3 separate regions of the Homo sapiens genome follow, and all the other regions are linked to region 2. Evidence: promoter capture Hi-C in human tissues and cell types (Jung and others, 2019). All regions are on one chromosome and are shown on one strand. Each heading gives the region's core, a stretch centred on a gene start or on the middle of the fragment in contact. The rest is flanking DNA. Distances are from core to core; before and after follow the strand shown. Region 1 has its middle 35 kb from the start of WBP2NL. Region 2 holds the start of POLDIP3 (DNA polymerase delta interacting protein 3). Region 3 overlaps MCAT (malonyl-CoA-acyl carrier protein transacylase).

Region 1 (4,246 bases), core at 41-2,540, 580 kb after region 2:
CAGGAGAATGGTGTGAACCCAGGAGGCAGAGCTTGCAGTGAGCCCAGATCACGCCACTGCACTCCAACCTGGGCGACAGAGCGAGACTTGGTCTCAAAGAAAAAAAAAAATAGAACATATGATCAAACAATCCTATAGGATAGTAAAGGGATATCTGTACTCCCATTGTTCACTGTAGCATTTTGCACGACAGTCAAGATATGGAAACAACCTAAATGTCCTTCAGTGATGAACAGATAAAGAAAATGTGATTATACACACATACAAAACAGACTATTATTCAGCCTTTAAAAAAGAAAATCCTGCCATTTGTAACAAAATGAATGAAGCTGGAGGAAGTTATGTTAAACAAAATAGGCAAGACACAGAAAGAGAAATACTGCATGATCTCCCTTTTATGTAGAATCTAAAATAGTCAAACTATAGAAACAGAAAGTAGGATGGTGGTTGCCAGGGGCTGGGAAGAGGGGGAAATGGAGGATGTTGGTCAAAGGGTATAAAAATGGTAACTATATACAGGTAATAGATATGTTAATTAGTTGGAATGTGATGGTCATTTCACAATGTTTCACAAAAACATTCAGTTGTATACATTAAATATATATAATTTTTGTATGTCATAAATATTAAATTATTGCAAAATAATTTAAGAGACAAAAAAGTGATTCACCAACTGTGTTTAATAGCTACATATTAATGATGGCAGCAGCAGGCCATCTGGAGCAGCTGCTGCCATCACGCTGGCTGCAGCAACTAGGCATGGCCAGGGCTGCATGCTCCATGGAGAAGGCAAAAGCCAGGGACAAGCGCGAGACCCGCCCCTTCCAAGTTGGGGTGAGAGCTTCCTGGATGCTGCTGCAGCCGCCCAAGCCGTGGCTGCAGACCCAGGCATCCCTGTGCTCTCAGGGCCCAGAGGGGCAGGTGGGAGCTCCACCCTCCCAGGCACAGCTCCAGCTGCCCAAACCGTGGCTGCAGACCCAGGCATCCTTGCACTCTTGGGGGCCCAGGAAGGCCCCCCTTGTTGCGGGAAGTCAGGGACCCCAAACGGAGGGACCGGCTGAAGTCATGACAGAAGAATGTGGATTGTGAAGATTTTATGGACATTTATTAGTTCCCCAAATTAATACTTTTGTAATTTCTTATGCCTGTCTTTACTGCAGTCTCTAAACATAAATTGTAAAGATTTAATGGACACTTATCACTTCCCCAGTAAATATCCTTGTGATTTCCTATGCCTGTCTTTGCTTTAATCTCTTAATCCTGTCAGCTGAGAAGGATGTGTATCGTCTCAGGACCCTGTAATAATTGCGTTAACTACACAAATTGTACAGCATATGTGTTTGAGCAATATGAAATGTGGGCACCCTGAAAAAAGAACAGGATAACAGCAATTGTTCAGGGAATAAGAGAGATAACCTTAAACTCTGACCACCGGTGAGCCGGGCAGAACAGAGCCATATTTCTCTTCTTTCAAAAGCAAATGGGAGAAATATCACTGAATTCCTTTCTCAGCATGGAAAGTCCCTGAGAAAGAGAATGCGCACCTAGGGGTAGGTCTCTGAACTGGCCCCCCCGGGGCGTACCTGTCTCTTATGGTCGAGATTGCAGAGGTGAAATAAACTCCAGTCTCCCATAGCGCTCCCAGGCTTATTAGGAAGAGGAAATTCCCGCCTAATAAACTTTGGTCAGACCGGGTGATCTCAAAACCCTGTCTCCTGATAAGATGTTATCAATGACAATGGTGCCTGAAACTTCATTAGCAATGTGATCTCACCCTGCCTCCACTTGCCTTGTGATATTCTATTACCCTGTTAAGTACTTGATGTCTGTCACCCACACCTATTCGCACACTCCCTCCCCTTTTGAAAATCCCTAATAAAAACTTGCTGGTTTTTGTGGCTTGTGGGGCATCACAGATCCTACCAACGTGTGATGTCTCCCCCGGATGCCCAGCTTTAAAATTTCTCTCTTTTGTACTCTGTCCTTTTATTTCTCAAGTCAGCCGACGCTTAGGAAAATAGAAAAGAACCTACGTGATTATTGGGGCAGGTCCCCCGATACCCCCTTGCCCTTGCAGGCATGGAAATGCCTGTTCCTACTGCCTAGCTTCTCCCTGCCTTCTCTGATCTCAGAGCAAAGTTGGGCAGTGCTGACACACCAGCCCCCTGCCGCCCTGGCCCCCTCCAGATTTTGGGCACAATGAGCATAGAAGGAAACTGAGGGGAGCTGAGGGCAGCTTGGCTTGGCACCTACAGCCTGGGTACCATCAACGGAAGGAGGCAGACAGGTTCCTGGGTAGAAGGGGATGGGTCCCTGGTGACGTCACACCTTCAGGCCAGGGAGGGCTTGAAAGCTGGGGGCCAGGATGCCAGTCCCATGGACTGGAGTGAGAACTTGTGATGGCTTTTCTGGGCCTGCCCATGGCCACATATGGACCAATCGATATGTACTTCTTCCCCTCTGAGGCCCATAAAATCCCTGGGCTCAGCCAGAGCTAAGCAGATGTTGGGACGACCAGCTGCAGAGAGGAGCTACCCATTCCAGGACCCCTCTCTGTTGAGAGCAGCAGACATCAGCACAATGAGCTGCAGTGAAGAGCTACCCACTCCAGGGCCTCCTCTCTGCTGAGAGCCACAGAGATGACAGGAAGACCTGCCTGCAGATAGGAGCTACCCACTCCAAGGCCTCCTCTGAGCTATTGTCACTCAATAGCTCCTGTTTGTCTTGCTCACCCTCCACTTGTCTGTGTACCTCATTCTCATTGCTCACCCTCTACTTGTCTGTGCACCTCATTGAAGAACTTTGGACCCACTAAATGAGGCTAAAAGACCTGTAACACAAACAGGGTTGAGACATGCCCCTTGCTCAACATGTTGTGGGCAAAGAGAAGAAAAGAAGAGCTGCAGCCCTTTGGGAAGCCCAGACCTGGGAGCTCTCCAAGCCAGGGCTGTGACTCCCTCTTTGGGGCCCTATGGTTCCTGGCATCTCCAAGCTTCTGGGCACCACCTTTTCCCTGGTGCCAGCTGTGGAAGCTGCTTGGAGTGCGACTGGTCCAGCTGCAGCCTCGTGGAGAGCTGGTGCCCATGCTGGTACCTGGAGCTGACCACCCCACTGCAGCAGCTGGCACATCTGACTGAAAAATAGCCAGACCCCACACTTCCCCACACACCCCTTGTCACTCCATGCAATCTCCCTTGGCAGGCATGGGATCCAGGCCAGTAGCATGAGCCAAGTGCAGCCTGTCAGGCCGGGTGGGTGGAATGAGCCCAGTGGGCCCAAGCAATACTTGGGCAGAGGTGCCACTTGTCCACAGAGGTTTCTGGCCAGAAAAGTGACACCCCAAAGATACCATAATATTAATAATTAATACCCTGTTTTATTATTTATAATAAATTCTAATTACTAAAAATTACAAGTTTCTTATATTGGCTACTAAATCATACATCTAAACTAATCAAACTGCTGGTCACATCTGTATAGACCCTTTCCCTTTGACAGAACCCCTTCTTTCTAATCCATTTAGGAAGCTTCAAAGAAAGTTTATTCTCTAGCAGTCCATGGTTGTCTGCCCCACCCTCTTCAGGCTCCAGAAGACTCTCAAGGCAAAGGCCAGGAAGAATATCATACGTTTCACTTCCTACCTGACAATGAGGTAATCTGTGTAACAGAATAAATTTTTACATTATTAATTTGAATTGGGCTTCTACATTTTATATATATACATACATGATTTTCAAGCAAGCAACCAAGTGCTAGGCAAGGAAAGCCAAGTCAACATGAAGGCAAAGGCTTTCTATTACCTTTTGGGTAAACCCAAATCCTGAGATTTGGATTAGGATAGATGCTTAAGAGATAGAGGTGATGCAGACCAACAGCACAGCTGAGAGGGCAGAATCTGGAAGTTTAAGGAATTGTCAGACTCTCAAGGATAAGGAGGCCTTTGGGGTCCTACTCCCCAGTTCTAAGGAGCAATATGGTACACAGAGTTGGATCTCTGACACCCTGGTTCTAAGCCCTACCTAAGATTCTGGGGTCCCAAGGCAACAAGCTTTTAGACTTGACGGGACTGCCAGGACTGGATAGTGGCTGTTTCAGAAGCAGTCTGATGACCAGAAGAAACTTCTCAGCATCTTGGTGCCAAATAAAATCTGGATACCTTTGCATAATCTTAGGATTTGTGAGAAGCCCACCAACAAAGCAGATGGTGGTGGGGATCTTGGTAACAGAAATAAATTTACAGAAAACA
Region 2 (4,125 bases), core at 1,186-3,685:
AGCGATTCTCCATACAGACTCGACACCTTTATTTATTATTTTTGGGACGGAGTCTCGCTCTGTCTCCCAGGCTGGAGTGCAGTGACATGATCTTGGCTCCCTGCAGCCTCTGCCTCCCAGGTTCAAGCGGTTCTATTGCCTCAGTCTCCGGAATACCTGGGGATTACAGGCGTGCACCACCACACCGGCTAATTTGTTTGTATTTTTAGTAGAGATGGGGTTTCACCATGTTGGTCAGACTGGTCTGAAACTCCTGACCTCAGGTGACCCACCCTCCTCGGCCTCCCAAAGTGCTGGGATCACAGGTGTGAGCCACCATGCCTGGCCAACACCTTTAAAATAACAGTTGTAACGGGCCCTTTACGCTGCAGAATTCACAGGCAGTATCACCTACCTATACGAAGAATTTTAAAAATCAACACAGCTCTAAATGAGTTGTAAAAGAACAAGAAAGGAGGCCGGGTGCTGTGTCTCATGCTTGTAATCCCAGCACTTTGGGAGGCCGAAGCAGGTGGATCACCTGAGGTCAGGAGTTCGAGACCAGCCTGGCCAACATTGTGAAACCCCCGTCTCTACTAAAAATACAAAAATTAGCCGGGCGTGGTGGCGTGCGCCTGTAATCCCAGCTACTCGGGTGGCTGAGACAGGAGAATCGCTTGAACCCGGGAGGCGGAGGCTGTGGTGAGCTGAGATTGTGCCACTGCACTCCAGCCTGGGCGACAGAGCGAGACACCGTCTCAAAAATAAAAATAAAATTGTCCTCCGCATCTGCCCTACACTGCCCAGCTGACCCCACTGGCCAGCCTGTCCTCCTCCCACCTCTTGCGCGTTCCTCCTGGCACGCCTGGAAGGGAGGAAAGGCTTAATGGTCCCGTTCTATGGGTGAGGAAAAGAGGTCTGGGAAGGAGCCCGGCGTGGTGGGGCGGGCCTGTAATCCCAGCTACTCAGGAGGCTGAGGCAGGAGGATTGCAGGATCGCTCTTACCCAGTTTCTTTCTTTCTTTCTTTTTTTTTTTTTTTTGAAACGGAGTCTTGCTCTGTCGCCTAGGCTGGAGTGCAATGGCGCGATCTCGGCTCACCGCAACCTCCGCCTCCCGAGTTCAAGCGATTCTTCTGCCTCAGGCTCCTGAGTAGGTGGGATTTCAGGCCGTGCCACCGCGCCCGGCTAATTTTTTTCTTTCTTTTTTTTTTTTTCAGTAGAGACGGGGTTTCTCCGTGTTGGCCAGGCTGGTCTCGACCTCCTGACTTCAGGTGATCCACCCGCCTCAGCCTCCCAAAGTGCTGAGATTACAGACATGAGCCACCGCTCCTGGCCTCTTACCCAGTTTCTGCACGGAGCTCCTGATGCCTGATGGCCAAGAGGACATAACCCCACCTGTTCTAAGGGCATGGAGTGTATTTTTAGAGTGATTGGACAAAATATGTGCCGAACACCTACGTCAGGTCTGGCGCATGCTGGAGGCTGGGGTTATATCAATGCAAAAGCCATTCCCTGTATTTAACACGTAAATGAATTAGTCTCTTTAACTCTCCCAACGCCCTATAAATTATTTGCTCCATTTTACATATTAAACGCTGTCACGAACTGAGCTGCTGTGTGAGGCCGGGGCCGGACTTATCTTTCTGAAGCACAGAGAAGCGGTTATACGCAGAAGTTTGGGAGAACTGGGTAAGGCCGCACACATGGAAATTGCCAGTTTCGTGGGTCCCAACGTCAATACTGTGGGCAACCTTAGACCGGCTCAAAGCGCAGCTGGGGACGGTGATGAAGTGCAGAGCGTCCACAGCCAGCGACAAGACTGCCAAGCAACTGGCAGCCTGAGTAACGGAGAAAACAACGAAAAAAACGCATTCACCACCTACCAACAAGAAACAAAAAACACGACCACCCCACAGTCAGTCTACTTTTTAGGCGTGAATAAGGTCGGGCAGATCGCAACTCCCAGGCATCCCGCAAAGTAGGCGGGTCACCTTGAGGGCGACCTTTACCCGCTCAAAAATTCGTCTCACATTAGCAGTGAGGATTCGGGCGTCACCCCGAATCGTTATTTTCCTTACTCATAAGTTTAAGGCATAAGGACGTTTTTAGTTTATTTCCTAGGTAATGAATTCTATTCTCATTAGGCGTATGATGACTATCGTAGTTGACTGTTGAGGTCATGATCCAGTTCCATTGAAGTTTGTCTCACTTGTTAATAATGTATTTTGTTGCTTTTCATTTAATTTTTTCCCTCGAGGAAAATAAATAATTCATAATGTGCCGAACTTCCGTATGCAGATGAGCAGCCAGCACCGCGAAGGCTCACGGGGAACGTCCCCGCCCCTTCCGGTTCTTGCCTGCTTTGAGCTGGCTGTCGCGAGAGTTGGTCCGCGGACGCCGGAAGTAGTTCGTCGCTCCCTAGCGGCCGAAGGGGCGGGCTCGCGGGGTCTCGACTGCTTTCGGCTTGCTCGGCGGAGCAAGATGGCGGACATCTCCCTGGACGAACTCATCAGGAAGCGCGGGGCGGCGGCGAAAGGACGGTGAGAGGCCTTTCCTTTCTTCGGGGTTTAGGGTCCTCGGCCTAGTGGAGCTCGAGGCGGGGGAGGTAGCGATCCGGGAGCGACGCGGAGGACCGGGTGCGCCCGCCCCCGACCACAGCCGCGCTCCTCATTGGCCGGCTGCCGCCGTCCCCGCCGTGGCCCCGACCGCCCGCCCACTGGCCGAGGCGCAGTCCCTCTGGCGGCCCTGGGAGGCCGACGGGGCCGCGGCGGGGACAGGGTGCCGCCTCGTGGACCTGAGGGGCTGCCCCCTGGGGCCCCCGCGTTCCGGGGTCCTGGGGTCTCGGCGGCGCAGCCTCCTTGCCTGTGTGGACTGGCATTTGGGCCCCGCTCCGTGATCTCGGCGCTGCCTGGTCTCCACCCATCTTAGAGTTGAGACAACCGAAGTTTAGTAGCGGGGAAGTGACTTGCTCCGACCGCCGAAGCTGAGGCGCAAGCCCAAATCCCCCTGCACGCGGCCCCTGTTAACACTCGCCTCTCTTTGTGCGGCGTTTTAAGTTTTCTGAGCCCTTTCATATACACGATGCCTCATTTAATCTTTTACAGTCCTGTTGTCTGCTAGCTATTCATGTTACCCACCTTTTACTGATGGGGAACTTGAGGCTGGAAGTGGTAGAGTGACTTGCCCGAGGCCACGGAGAACTGAGCGGCGGGCTGAGCGCGATTTAATTGCTGGCTGAGTTGGCCTCCTACATGGGCTTGAAAAACTGGTGTGTTGGGCAGGAGATTGGTTATTTCCTTAGGGAGAAGAAAGTGCTTGAGCTGGCTGAGGAGCCATGGAGGTGATTTGCAGTCATGTCTCCCAAACTTCCCCTAGACCCTTAAATGTTGTTAGTCATTTCAAGCCTTCGTGAGCTGAGTTCATCTGTATGAAGAAGTGAGAACTTTGCCCAATAGTTTCCCAACACACATTAAGTTTAAATGTCTTTGTAAATAGCCAGGATGTAAATATGTTAGATATTGTTTTCTCAGACATTTGTTCTCTCAGCAGATGTTTATTTTTATTTTTATGTTTTTTTTGAGACGGGGTGTTGCTCTGTCGCCCAGGCTGGAGTGCAGTGGTGCCATCTCGGCTCACTGCAACCTCCGCCTCCCCGGTTCCAGCGATTCTCCTGCCTCAGCCTCCCAAGTAGCAGGGACTACAGGTGTGCACCACCACGCCCGGCTAATTTTTGTATTTTTAGTAGAGATGGAAGTTTCACTGTGTTGGTCAGGCTGGTTTCGAACTCCTGACCTCAGGTGATCCTCCCGCCTCGGCCTCCTAAAGTGCTGGGATTACAGGCGTGAGCCACCGGCCCGGCCATTCCGCAGATGTTTATTAATACCACCCGTATGCCTGTGGTTAGGTTTTTCTCTTGATGTCTGAAATGTATCCCTCACCTCCTTCCCCATCCTGGACACTTGTATCAACTACAACTGCCACCACCACCTCATAATTCGCAGCCAGCACTTACCTGGCTTGTGGTTCGTAACGGGCACACATTAGTATTTGTTTCCTCAACTACTGACTGTGAAAGCTCTCTCAGATCTCCATCTAGTGACTGATGTGAAGCTGGTGCTGGCTCCTCTGGCCACTTCTAAGTCCATC
Region 3 (4,675 bases), core at 2,039-4,538, 520 kb before region 2:
TTACTTAAATCCTCCCAGGTTCACCCACCTCGGCCTCCCAAAGTGCTAGGATTACAGGTATGAGCCACTGCACTGGCCTAAATGAAGGAACATTGAGATGAGTTGAGAATGTCACTTCACTTGAAGGTGGTGGATTGATTGCTATTAATATTTAATAAGACGGTAAATGTTAAGCTAGCACTTGAGATCCTTTACCCTATTTCACCTTCACACCACCTTGTGAGGTTAATACTGTTATTTGATGGTTGAGGAATGCAGACTCAGGGATATTAAAAGAATTAGTTAAGTGGTCCTGTTGAATCGTCATCATAATATTCATTCACTGCTTACCCTAGTCTGGGTCTGTGCTAAGCACTGTATAGACATTATATTCACATAATTCTCTCATCCGCCCTTTGGGGTAGGCCCTGTTCTTCCCTCATTTCACAGATGAGATAAAAATGCTCTTGGCCGGGCGAGGTGGCTCACGCCTATAATGCCTATAATCCAGCACTTCAGGAGGCTGAGGTGGGTGCATCACGAGGTCAGGAGTTCAAAACCAGCCTGGCCAACATGGTGAAACCCCGTCTCTACTAAAAATACAAAAATTAGCCAAGTGTGGTGGTGGACACCTGTAATCCCAGCAACTCGGGAGGCTGAGGCAGGAGAATTGCTTGAACCCGGGAGGCGGACGTTGCAGTGAGCCGAGATCACGCCATTGCACTCCAGCCTGGGCAACAAGAGCAAAACTCCGCCTCAAAAAAAAAAAAGTCATGCTCTTAACTTGTGCACAACGATATGGCCTGAGAGCCTGCTGCAGGGCCATGGCAAGGGAATCCAGAGCCCTGGGTTGGCGTCAGTGTGACCATGGACGGAGTTGATGGACTGTAACTAACCAGGAAAGCTCCTCCTAAATAAAGGGGCAGGACTCAATGATTGTCAAGGTCACTTTTGTGTGTCCTCTTCCAGCTGGTGCACCAAGTTCGTAGAACCTGGCTCACTGAGATGCTGAACACCCCGCCAGCTCTCAGGTACAGAGCCCTGGAACTGGGATCCCCAGGAGAGTGAGGGCTCACGTTCTGCATCTGTCCCCACAGGTGATTGAGAACTGTGTTGCTGCTGCTGGATTCAGTGTGGGAGAGTTTGCAGCCCTAGTGTTTGCCGGAGCCATGGAATTTGCTGAAGGTACAGGAAGGAGTTTGGTTTTATGCAAGGCTGTGGTCTTGGGCTCATTAGGGGTAAGGGACACTGCCAAAAATGATACTGGACCCACTCAGGTGATGGGAAGGGAGCACATGGACAGGGGTGACATTGGCACATGAGGACAGGGCTTTGCTGTGATTCCTTTTCAAGACTGAAGGATTCATTAGGGATTTCCCTTATTTTTGTAATCTCATGAAATCTGCTTGCTGAACTGTCTAACCCGCTATCCTGTGCACTCATACCTGCAGCACCTGCAACACGAGAGTATGTGTTCAGTAGATATTCGTTGAATTAAAGAGTAAATAAATATTGGATCTGGAGCCATATCAGTTTTACTTCTTAAGATTTTTGCTGGCCAGGAACCATGGCTTACGTCTGTAATCCCAGTGCTTTGGGAGGCCAAGGCAGGAGGACCACTTGAGGCCAGGAGTTCCAGACCATCTTGGGCCACATAGTGAGACCTTCATCTCTGCCCCCAACAAAAAACAAAAATTACGTTGGGTGCAGTGATTCACACCTGTAATGCCAGCACTTTGGGAGGCAGAGGCAGATAGATGTTTGAGCCCAGGAGTTTTAGACCACCCTGGGCAACATGGTGAAAACCCCATCTCTACCGAAAATACAAAAATTAGCCAGGCATGTTGGTGTGCGCCTGTAGTCCCAGCTCGAGTACTTGGGAGGATGAGGTGGGAGGATTACCTGAACCCAGGAGGTCAAAGCTGCAGTGAGCTGTGATCGTGCCACTGCATTCCAGCCTGGGTGACAGAGTGACACCCTGTCACACACACACACATACACAAAATTAGCTGCACTTAGTGGCATGCATCTGTAATTCCAGCTACTCAGGAGGCTGAGGGAAGATCACTTGAGCCCCTGAGTCTGAGGCTGCAGTGAGCCACGATTGTGCCACTGCACTGCGGCATGGGTGACAGAGCAAGACCCTGTCCAAAACAAACAAAAAAGAATCTAGTATAGAAACACGAGAGGTTATTGGGACTGGAGAGGGAGAAATGGAGAGTGCCTACATAGTGGACATGGAGTGTTTGAAACTAGAGAGAGTTGGTGGTTGTACAACATTATGAATACCCCAAATACCACTGAATTATACACATTAAAGTGGTTAATTATATTTTATGTGAATTTCACTGCAGTGCTTTTTTTTTAAGCGTTATAACATTATTAAGGAAAGTTTCATAATTTCACATTTTATGAAACAATTTTATTACATGTATCATTTTATGTGTACATAATGTGCAGAATTAGGCTTGGTGTGGTGGCTCACGCCTGTAATCCCAGCCCAGCACTTTGGGAGGCCAAGGTGGGTGGATCACCTAAGGCAGGAGTTTGAGACCAGCCTGACCAACGTGGTAAAACCCCATCTCTACTAAAAATTCAAAAATTATCTGGGTGTGGTGGCGTGCACCTGTAATCTTAGCTACTTGGGAGGCTGAGGCACAAGAATCACTTGAACCAGGAGGCAGAGGTTGCAGTGAGCCGAGATTGTGCCACTGCACTCCAGCTTGGGTTAGAGAATGAGACTCTGTGTCAAAAAAAAAAAAAAAAGTGCAGAATTATAGCATAGTTACACTTTTGTGTTTTCTTTTTCTTTTTCTTTTTTGAGGCAGTATCTTGCTCTGTCACCCCAGCTGCAGTGCAGTGGTGCAGTCGTAGCTCACTGCAGCCTCAGCCTCTTGGCCTCAAGTGATCCTCCCGCTTCAGTCTCCAGACTAACTGGGACTACAGGCTCACACCATCATGCCCAGCTAATTTTAGAAGTTTTTGTAGAGATGGGGTCTCGCTATGTTGCCAGGGCTGGTCTGGAACTCCTGACTCAAGTGATCCTCCAGCTTCAGCCTCCTACAGTGCTGGGATTACTTACAGGCATTAGCCACTGTGCCTGGCCTACTTTTTTCCCTTGACATTTTACATAGTTTTGAATGTCTCTGTGGGAGGATGTCTGCGTGCTCTCCTCCCTTTTCTTGTATGTTTTCTTCTACTTCTTGTCACAGGCTCTTGTTCATTTGTTTTTTAAGAGACAGAGTTTTCCTCTGTCTTCCAGCCTTGAGTGCAGTGATGCAACCATAGCTCACTGCAGCCTCTAACTCCTGATCTCAAGCAGTCCTCCTGCCTTAGCCTCCTAAGTACCTGATGTCACAGGCTGTTTATGTATTTGTCCTCCTGTTCTTGTGTAAGGGAGCTAAAAGTCCAGTACATAGAAGTGCTAAGTGAATGAAGATATGTCAGGATTTGCTCCTTAGACCTCTCTGTTGACCTGTGAAACACTGTGCAGGTCCCTTAATCTCTTCTCAGTCTGGTCATCTCTTCTCTCTGCCCAGGAAGCAGGACCAGGGTGTCAGGGGTCTGGTAGTTTCAGGCCATTCTTATGTGTGGCTTTGTAGGGATTTTTGAGACAGGGTCTCGCTCTGTCACCCAGGCTGGAATACAGTGGCATGAACACAGCTCACTGTAGCCTCAACTTCCTGGGCTCCAGCAATCCTCCCACCTCAGCCTCCCAAGTAGCTGGGACCACAGGCGCACACTGCCACGCCCGGCTAATTTTTGTATTTTTGGTAGTGACAGGGTTTTACCATGTTGTCTAGTCTGGTCTCGAACTCCTGAGCTCAAGTGATCTGCCTGCCTTGGCCTCCCAAAGTGCCGGAACTACAGGTGCGAGCCACAGCGACCAGCCCTCAGGCCACTCTTATTATCATTGGCACTGCCTGCCCTCTCTCCATGCTCTTGAGCCACACTGAATCAGGAGTCATAGGTTTTCGTTCATCTGCATTGGCTGTGTCAGGTTCTCCAGCTCTAAGTGGGGACAGTAACACTTGACTTATGACAATTATGTCACTGAAATTCATGTAGTACAGTAGCCCATGTCTCTGATGGTTCTTTTTTGTTGTTCTTGTTTTGAGACAGGGTCTTGCTCTGTCACCAGGCTGGTGTGCAGTGGAGCAATCATAGCTTACTACAGCTGCAGCCTCAACCTGCTGGTCACAAGTGATCCTTCCGTGTCAGCCTCCCAAGCATCTGGGACTACAGGCAGGCACCACCATGCCTGGCTAATTTGTATTTTATTTTTTGCAGGGACAGGGTCTCCCTATGTTGCTCAGGCTGGTGTCGAGCTCCTTGGGCTCAAGCCGTCCTGCCTCAGCCTCCCAAAGTGCTGGGATTACAGGCATAAGCCACCATGCCCGGCCTGATCTCTCTTAATAAACTAACTAATAATAATTCCCAGCTTTCACAACAGCCCAGGCAGATTAGATATTATTATCCTCATTTTACTAACTAAAAATTTGAACCTCAAGGAGGTTGTGACTTGGCTAAGGCAATGTGGCTTCCACCCTGTTCCTCTTTACCTTTTACCAGGGTTTCTCAATAGTGGCACTATTTAAAAAAAAAAAAAAACAGTGGCGCTATTGGGCCAGGTCATTTGTTTTGTTGGGGGCAAGGGGGGCTGACCTGTGCAGTGCAGCATGTTGAGCAGCATCCC

Evidence for each region. The method cuts DNA at HindIII sites, captures the fragments that hold promoters and counts their contacts. A contact is called where the count stands out against the background at its distance.
Region 1: a contact is called between a fragment that was not itself captured here and the fragment with the promoter of POLDIP3 in region 2, in 1 of the 25 tissues and cell types used here (dorsolateral prefrontal cortex).
Region 3: a fragment that was not itself captured here is called in contact with the fragment with the promoter of POLDIP3 in region 2 in 1 of the 25 tissues and cell types used here (lymphoblastoid cells).

The regions. Positions count from the first base shown.
Region 1 is chr22:42,032,042-42,036,287 of GRCh38, reverse strand. It overlaps a transcript of WBP2NL not described here. Among named protein-coding and RNA genes, the nearest start is that of WBP2NL, 35 kb to the right of the region's middle. The HindIII fragment of the contact is 4,997 bases long and covers 1-3,788 here.
Region 2 is chr22:42,613,193-42,617,317 of GRCh38, reverse strand. POLDIP3 (DNA polymerase delta interacting protein 3) reads left to right here and starts at 2,435. Exons shown (of 9, transcript NM_032311.5): 1 at 2,435-2,519. The coding sequence starts at 2,461. It overlaps RNU12 (RNA, U12 small nuclear), which reads right to left and starts at 2,074; the gene lies at 1,925-2,074. It overlaps LOC124905127 (a long non-coding RNA gene), which reads left to right and starts at 2,539. Exons shown (of 2, transcript XR_007068118.1): 1 at 2,539-4,125. RefSeq lists enhancers at 1,448-1,577, 2,228-2,287, 2,368-2,547, 2,040-2,583, 2,584-3,127 and 1 more and silencers at 2,018-2,077, 2,618-2,947. The HindIII fragment of the contact is 15,212 bases long and covers 1-4,125 here.
Region 3 is chr22:43,137,651-43,142,325 of GRCh38, reverse strand. It overlaps MCAT (malonyl-CoA-acyl carrier protein transacylase), which reads left to right. Exons shown (of 4, transcript NM_173467.5): 2 at 1,077-1,164. Among named protein-coding and RNA genes, the nearest start is that of MCAT, 3.4 kb to the left of the region's middle. The HindIII fragment of the contact is 7,455 bases long and covers 1-4,675 here.